2 separate regions of the Homo sapiens genome follow, and region 2 is linked to region 1. Evidence: promoter capture Hi-C in 16 types of primary human blood cells and fetal thymus (Javierre and others, 2016). All regions are on one chromosome and are shown on one strand. The core of a region is centred on a gene start or on the middle of the fragment in contact, and the rest is flanking DNA. Distances in the headings are between cores, read along the strand shown. Region 1 holds the start of ZNF704 (zinc finger protein 704). Region 2 overlaps ZBTB10 (zinc finger and BTB domain containing 10).

Region 1 (4,354 bases), core at 311-2,810:
GTGGTCCCATCACCCAAGTTCCCCACCTCACTGGGGAGAAGCGCCCTTTCCCGGCACCCACACCAAACAACAAACCCGACACGGCCTTTGAGGAAAGCGGGAGCCGCCGCCTGGGAGAGACGCAGGGGCCCAAGGCGCAGGCAAATCAACAGTTCCTCGCGCTGCCCCGCGCGGCCGCCCGCGCCGCCTGACACACCCCTCCTGGCCGGGTCTCTCCCCGGCGCCGCTGACCGTCCTCGGCCAGGCGCCTTGCCCCGGGGCCCGGGCCCGTCCCCCTCCCCGGGCTGGCGGGTCCCACGCGCGCCACCGCGCCCAACACGCACCTTCAACGCGCCCCGGGCCGGGCCCCTGGGGACTGCGTGGCCGGGTCCGAGGGGCACGAAACGCTCCTCGCCGTCCTCGTCGTCTTCGTCGCCGTCCACCACCTCGACGACCACCTCCTCGTCCTCCTCTTCCTCGTCGTCATCCTCCTCCTCCGCGCCCCCTCGGGGCTTCTCCTCCACACGCCCGAGCCCCCTCCGCCGCCTGCTCCCGCCCTCCTCGTCCTCGTCTTCCTCCCCTAGAAGCAGCAGCACCGGCGACGAGGCGGCGGCGGCGGCCCCGGTGGCCCGAGGGGGGCCGGTCCCGGCGCTGCGCGGCGGCGGCGGCAGCGGCGGCCTCCAGCTCTCCGGGGCGGGCGCCGGGGCCGGGCCCGGGACAGGGGGCGGGAGCCCGGGTAGGGCGGCTTCCTTGGCGGGCGCGGGCGCCGGCCCGGCAGGCTGCAGCGCGGCGCCCCCCCGGCGGCTGCCCAGGCTGGAGCGCTTGGCTAGACGCCGCGCCTGCATGCCTGAGCGCGGGGTTGCGGGCCGCGGCGCGGGGCCGGAGAGTTTGTCACCTCCTCTTCCTCCTCTGCCTCCGCCGGTGGCCGCAGGGCCGGGGACTCGCGGCCGCAAGGGGCTGCAGGAGCCGCCGGCCAGGACCCGCGGCTGCCACTGGCTGCAGAGGCGCGGGCGCCGCCTTCGCTGGACCGGCCGGCGGGGACGCCGGCGGCCGGCGGCTACGGCGGGGCGGCGCGGCGGCCGCGGGCGGGGGTGGGTGTGAGCGAGCGGCGCGCTGCCGCCTCCGCCGCCGCCGCCGCCGCCCGGGAGCCGCGGGCCGCGCTGCGCTCCATGCGGCCGGCGGCCGAGCCCGCGCGCGCCTCTCCCGGCCGGCTGCGCCCGCGCGCTCCGGGCCTACCGCTGCCGTGCCTCGGCGCGAGCTGTTTGTGTTGTATGTTTTCCACCACCGCCCCCCTCTTCGCGAGCCATTCCTCACAACCCTCCGGTCCCCCCGCTCAGACAAAACCCGGACTGGATTTTTTTTTTCTCTTACCCACAGTCTCCGAAAGTCTGGCGCTTCGAAGCAGTTGGCCCTGACACCAGGGCAAACGCTTAACCGCAGCCCATTCTTCCCTCCGGAGGGAGGGGAGTAGACTTCGCTGGAAGTAAGGTTGTCTGTCAAAGTTAGACTTTGAACGTAGAGATTTGCTACAAGTCATTTTAATGGACACTGATGTGCATGGCAGCTACTCCTGAGCTTGTGTGAAATCAAGGAAGGTGTACCAATCTGAGGTTTGGGATGAATTCCTAATATGAATCATCAGAGTCGCTTAGATTTTCGAAACACTGTTTCATGAGCGATTGTCTACCAATCTCACACTCTTTGAACGCACCACTCTAGGCCCTGCGATTGAGCTGCCTTGGCTCTGTGCTGAGTGTGTAGGTCTTTCAGCTTTTACTCCTGCTATTCTACCTTGAGTGCCTGATTTTAATGGCTGAATTCCAAGAAGCTTTCTGTTTGCACTGTCTGATCTGTAGACTCTCTTCTGGCATTGTTCAGGACTTTGAAGAAACAAATGGGTGGGAGTTCAAGATCGTTTGAGTTGGTTACTTAAGAAATTAATATGAAGTAAGACCAAATCTGGAAATCAAGCACATAACATGACTAATTTTGCCATTTTCTGACGATTTTTAGGTGTGATAAAGAAAATATATTTGCTATTGCGTGGGGTTAGGCTATGTAGTAAGTGGTATTTCTTCTTTTATTTATTTTAATTTTTATTTATATATATTTCTTTATTTTTCAGATGGAGTTTCGCTCTTGTTGCCAAGGCTGGAGTGCAATGTCATGGTCTGGGCTCACTGTAACCTCCGCCACCTGGGTTCAAGCGATTCTCCTGCCTCAGCCTCCTGAGTACCTGGGATTAAAGGCGCGCTCCACCATGCCATGCTAATTTTGTATTTTTCGTAGAGACAGGGTTTCACCATGTTGGCCAGGCTGGTCTCAAACTCCTGACCTCAGATGATTTGCCTGCCTTGGCCTCCCAAAGTGCTGGGATTACAGGTGTGAGCCACCGTGCCCGGCCTTAAGTCGTATTTCTTACATTCAAATCATACCCCCAATTCCATCCCTGTAGAGGAGGGCTGGGGAGGATCTTACGCATCAAATACCCTGGTAGGCACCTCCGTGGGGCCAGAATAAAAGGTGTATTCACCTTCAGTTAATTATTGTTGGACATTTAACATCATATGCTCTGTTAGACACTTGAATGGGGCTCATTAAATGCTCACTTATGGTGGCTTCCAACTGTTGAACAGGGATGATGACAAAGATTCTAAAATGAACTTTTTGTTCTCCCTGAATCAGATTAGCTTCCTGATGTACCTATTTCAGGTGATGAAACTCTCATTATAATCATTTGAGCCCAAAATAGCGGTATCATTTTAACTCCCTTCTCTACCTTATCCCTAGAGGCAATTGCCCACAAGTCCAACCCATTGTTCTTTCTAAAATGCATTTTGAATCCACCCCTTCCTTTCCATTCCCAAAGCTCTTACAGCATTTTGTGACTTCAAAAGTGGAAGTTTCTAACAGTTCTACACACCCATTTTCTCACCCACACACCCTCCCTTTCCCTCCTCAGATGCCACCACCAGATTTATGTTTCCGAAACCCCATTTAGATCACACCATTTTCTTGTTGGACTTTATATTTGTAAATATTCTGTTCAGGAATTCAGAGAGAAGAAAACAGAACATTAAGAGATGGGTGTGTCTGATCAAAGCATGGAATAGCAGGGGCTAGCCAATAAGTGAATAATCAGTATCAGCTAGAGTGTGCAAAGAATTAAGAAAGAACATTAAGGTGGTTTCATCCCAATTGGAAGAAATTTAGCTTCGTTGATTTGGGAGATGATTTTAGAGTGAGGCAGCAGGATCTTTCTCTGGCCATGAAAAGGAAAGATCGGGGCAAGGGGTGGGCAGACAGGTATGGAGGAGGTGGAGGAGGACAAAGGTGTGAGGCAAGCTGGCTAGTAGTTAGGCACATGGTCTCAGGAGCACCTAGGTCCGAATCCTGACTCTGGAACTTACCAGCTTTACTTTTACTCATCCTCTTTCTGTGCCTGTTTCCTCATCTGTGAAATGGGGATCATAGTAGTAAAGTTGTTTTGCAGAGTAATGAGTGAATAAATGCAATCAGCTTACAAGAGTGCCTGGGACAAGCTAGGGTTTATATGCGGGCTTATCATACTAAACATTGTAATGGTAGGTAAACAAGGTGGCTTGGGATACTCTCAGAGAATAACAAGGTAGCTCTCTTTTAAGTAAGCTCAGTAATGTCAGTAACTAGCAAAATGTGCTTTTAAAGACCAACAACTTGTCATCGGAGGACCATGGTCAGGCCAAGCATGTAGCTTTTTGTGCCTAAAATTGCTATAGATGAAAGAAAGTAAATGTTTTCCTGAGAACCTAGAGGAAATACAGAGTTAAATGAATTGGTGATTGGCATTTGTGACTTAGTGAAAGATGATACACTATTGTACATTCTTTTAAAATTGCTGTATATGCTTTGAAATCAGCTTATTGTTTCTCTTAGGCCACTTCAATAGACTTCATAGACATCCATTCCCTGGCCCCACATTGCTGGAAAGGCTGCCTCTGAATGGGAAAAAAAAAAAAAAAAAAAAAAAAAAAAGACCTGGCCTTGGCTTTCAAACCATTAAATGAAGGCTAATGTCAAAAAAGAGGTTTCACCCAAGCTGGGCTTTGAGGGATGAGAAGGATCTGTTCAGGCAGGGAGAGCAGCATTGTCTAGGCAAGTGCAGGCCACTGAAGACCACCCTCATTAAATCAGAGGACACTTAGTGGGAATAAAATCAAATTAACTCATCAGGAATCAAGAAAAGATCTCATGATGTGGGCACATGACACACTACATGCATGACATGGGCTCAGAAGTCAAAAAGTATCTTGTGATGCCAAGCAAGTGGGGAAGAGTCATTGCTGCTTCTTTCCCCCACATTCCCTAAGTGTAACACATTTTTTTCTTCCAAAAC
Region 2 (4,354 bases), core at 693-3,192, 380 kb before region 1:
TGATCAGTCCTCCTTTTTGACTTTAAGGCAACCTGTGGTGGTGGATGGAATTCATTCTTTCGTATTGGTTAGCCAGTCGTTGATTTTATAAAGTTAGCTCTTAGTATTCTGTTTATTGGAATGATTCTGCCGTTCAGCACACTTACCCTGGGGTTAATTAGGCGCACCAGTAACCCCACAGACACAGCACCCATGTTTCTCAGAAGTTAGGGCTTTAACTTTAAAGCACAGGGTGATCCCCCGCCCCCGCCCCAGTGGACAATGTAGTAGGGTTTTTGTTGTTGTTTTGCACACATTTTAGTTGCCTAAGCCCTAGAAGGAAGGTCATTTAAAGATACAAGGCCGAGAAAGGTTAAGTAAATAGTCCTAAGAGTCTGGGGTGACCCAACTGAGACTAGAGCCTGTAAGGAATGTCGTAATGGAAAAAGAATGGATTTGGAGTAAATCTGGGTTCAGATCTCAGCTTTCTGCAATTAACTAGCTTTGTGAGCTTGGGCAATAGAGTGAAATGGAACTAACAGCTCCTGGTTTTCCGTGTGCCAAACACATTTATTCTGCAAAGTATTTATTTTTTGTTCCCATTTTACAGAAGAGGAATCTAAAGCCTTAAAGGGTTAAGTAACATTCCTGAAGTTATGTAGTAAGATGATGGAGTTGCAAGGGACTTGTGAAAATGAAAGTTTAATTTTCCAAATAGGGCTATGTTGGTTACTTAGAAAATTTTAAATGGGATGAATTTTCTTAATCGGCTGTGGACCAATTCCTCTTTATCAGCATAGTCTCTCCCTGTAGGCAAATCTGAATGGGAATGCAAATTATAATTAGCTCCTTTAGTGAACCTGAAATCAGAAGAAGGGGCATTAATTGGATAACCTTAAGGTAGCCTCAGCTTGAGTGTATTCTTCTCCTCTGGGTATGTATCTGCGTCTTGGAATTCCTAGGAAAAACCTTTCTAAACTTGACCCGAACTACGACTCTCTTCCTCATCACTCCTTTAAATTCCCCCATCAATGTAATCTGCAGGCCATCTCCTTTCTTTGGGACATTCTATACAATATACATATATTAAGGGCTACAGTTTTAGTAAGTCCTGTGTGTCCTAAGGTTATATATTGGTCTCCTTGATTGGATTTTGGGTGTTTTCACTTTGAATTGATCTTAATCATTTATTACTTTCATTATAACTAATCTTGAGGGGATATCTTGTTATCAACCCCCCAGGTACCACCTATATAAATACCTGTTTGTCTTAACATGAGTAACATGAGTAACAGGTTCCTGATCTCTTTTGGGCAGAGTGCAATCATTTTGTTTTTCGTTTTTCTTCAGTCTCCAATTACCTATAGGAGGCAGTATAACACAACACGTAATGTAAGCGCCTACTTGGGCTTAAGGTCAGAGGACTTTGCTCTTAAATCTCTACTTTTTAGGCAGGCAAATTAGTTAACTTCTAGTTTCGTTATGTATGCAAAGTATATGTGCCAGCATAAAACCACTTAGTGCCGTTATTTATTATCATTATTACCTTTTTGTTTTGTTTTTTTGAGACAGTGACTCTATTGCCCAGGCTGGAGTGCAGTGGTGAGATAAAGGCTCACTGCAGCCTCCTGGGCTCAGGCATCCTCCCGAGTAGCTAGAACTACAGGTGCGCGCCACCATTCCTGGCTAATTTTTAAGTTTTTTGTTGAAACGGGAGTCTCGCTATGTTGCCCAGGCTGGTCTCAACCTTTTGGGCTCAAGCAATTCTCCCACCTTGACCTCCCCAAAATGCTGGGATTACAGGTGTGAGCCACTGAGCCTGGCCGTTATTACTCATTTTGATCACCAATCAGTTCTCCTTTTTATACCTTCAGAGACTTTGTGGCCATCAGGTTCTTTGAACATTCTGAGCCTATTTCTCATACATGCAGTTTTTCTCAGCTTCACAAAGACACTCTTAATATCTTGTCTTAAAAACATGGAAATGAGAGTTTTAGAATTCTTTAGGCAAGAAATCACTTTGAGTCTAGGAGTACTAAACTCCTATTTTCCCAATTATTTCTCAAAGAGTCCCGTTTCTGAGAGGAATTTGGCCACATCTTAACACAGTCATGTACTGCATGACGTTCTCAAGGATGGACTGCATTTATGATAATGGTCCCATAAGATTATAGCGGAGCTGAAAAATTACTATCGCCTGGTGATAGCGTAAAGTTGTAGCGTACTTTGTTTTGTAATCCCAGCACTTTGCGGGGCCGAGGTGGGTGAATCACTTGAGGTCAGGAGTTCGAGACCAGCCTGACCAACATGGTGAGACCCTGTCTGTACTTAGTGTAGCCTAAGTGTACGGTGCTCATAAAATCTACAGCAGTGTATGGTAATGTCCTAGGCCTTTCATTCAGTCACCACTCACTGACTCACCCAGAGCAGCTTCCAGGTATGCCAGCTCTGTTCATGGTGAGTGCCCTATAAGGTGTGCCATATTTTTACTGTACCTTTTTCATGTTTAGATAGATTAGATACACAAATACTATTGTGTTACAGTTGCCTAAAGTATTCCTTACAGTAACATAGTGTACAGATTTGTAGTCTGGGAGCAATAGGCCCAACCATATAGCCTAGGTGTGTAGTAGGTTATACCATCTAGGTTTGTGTACGCTAAGGCACAGTGACAAAATCGATGCATCTCTCAGATCATATCCCTCTCGTTAAGTGATGCATAACTGTATGTCATGAAAGGTTACTTTCCTCTAAGTAAGAAAAGTATCTTTTTGTTAATCCCTTGGTAGTTACCAAAAAGTTAATCCTTCTGTTAATTGGACCTTGGTTATTGTGGACTGTTCATGGGAAAGTCTTTTAAAACATGCTTTCTGAGTCTGTGTTTTGAGCCTTCTATTTCCGAGGTGTCCCTGTATTTATAAGGATGTGAGGGACAATTAATAGTTTAATTTTGAGTAACAATTGACTACATCGTCAGAGTCAGGTTTAATGATTAGCTCATTCAGTATCTGACCATTTGGCCCAGAAGACTTTAAAATTCCTTAATAACAGTGATTACCAGTTATTCTTGGTTTAGACCACTTTCTACCTAATTGTGAAATTTTCATAGCCTAAATCACACATCCTGTCAACTCTTCCTGGGAGAAACATGCATCCAAATGTATTATTGTTGTAAATTTAGTTAACCTTTACAGAAACTAAGTAATGAATTCAGACCAGTGATCTGATTGAAATTTCCAGTTGGAATATATTGATGTCAGTAGCTGAGCAAACAAAAGAATGTAAGGCAGATCTATCAGCCTAATTTGTTTATGGCAGAAATAAGGGCGGAAGGTTGGTTGGTTGGTTACTTGGTTGGTTTTTAACACTTTAGGAAGAAAGTCTGAAAGACCTTTCACTGAGGAAAAATCGATTAGAGTTGAGCCTGTAGCCCATTAAATTCCGTTGTTTCTTATTTATATATTTTACATTATTTATAATTTATTCTTTGTGTTTTATTCAGTAACAGCTAGTTCATAGCCCTTGTGCTTTTCAAACTTGTTAGCAGTGTCTGACTGTATACCTTATTGTGTACCTAGGATTAGCTTCCTTCTCCATCTTAAATTTAGCTGTATTAGGTTGGCAAAGCACTGGAGATAAAAATCTGTATGTTTTGTTAACATTCATTCTCTCTGCCCTCAAGGAACTTGTAGTTTAGTAAGGAGAGACAGACATGACCGAAAAAAGACACAGATAACATGGTAGCAGTATATAATCAGGGTACATTGAAGAATTTTTTTTTTTTTGAGATGGGGTCTCACTTGTCACCCAGGCTGGAGTGCAGTGGTGTGATCTGGGCTCACTGCAACCTCCGCCTCCTGGGTTCAAGTGATTCTTCTGCCTCAACCTCCTGATTAGCTGGGACTACAGGCACATGCCACCATGCTAGGCTAATTTTTGTATTTCTAGTAGAGACGGGGTTTCAGTATGTTGGCCAGGATAGTCTCTATCTCCTGATCTCGTGATCTGCCCACCTCGGCCTCCGAGAGTGCTGGGATTACAGGCGTGAGTCACGCACCCGGCCTGAAGATTCTTAAGGGAGTGATCAGTTCTACCTGCAAAGGTTGGAAGAAGCTTGTACAACTGATTCTTGAATTTTAATTGCATTTAATTAATAGGTGTTGACCAGGATGGGGAGGGCATTTAGGCAGTGCAATTAGAAACAGCCTAAGGAGGAGCCAGGCGCAGTGAGTGGTTCATGCCTGTAATCCCAGCACTTTGGGAGGCCGAGGTGGGTGGATCACTTGAGGTCAGGACTTCGAGACCAGCCTGGCCAACATGGTGAAACCCCGTCTCTACTGAAAATACAAAAATAAGCCAGGCGTGGTGGCAGGTG

Evidence for each region. Contacts are between HindIII fragments. The CHiCAGO score rates a contact against its expected background, and 5 or more counts as called.
Region 2: a fragment that was not itself captured here is called in contact with the fragment with the promoter of ZNF704 in region 1 in 1 of 17 cell types (fetal thymus); the score reaches 6.3 in fetal thymus.

The regions. Positions count from the first base shown.
Region 1 is chr8:80,873,221-80,877,574 of GRCh38, forward strand. It overlaps ZNF704 (zinc finger protein 704), which reads right to left and starts at 1,561. Exons shown (of 9, transcript NM_001033723.3): 1 at 1,351-1,561. RefSeq lists a silencer at 240-440. The HindIII fragment of the contact is 1,917 bases long and covers 1-1,805 here.
Region 2 is chr8:80,488,734-80,493,087 of GRCh38, forward strand. The region is part of intron 1 of ZBTB10 (zinc finger and BTB domain containing 10); the gene reads left to right. Among named protein-coding and RNA genes, the nearest start is that of ZBTB10, 4.7 kb to the left of the region's middle. The HindIII fragment of the contact is 4,296 bases long and covers 1-4,090 here.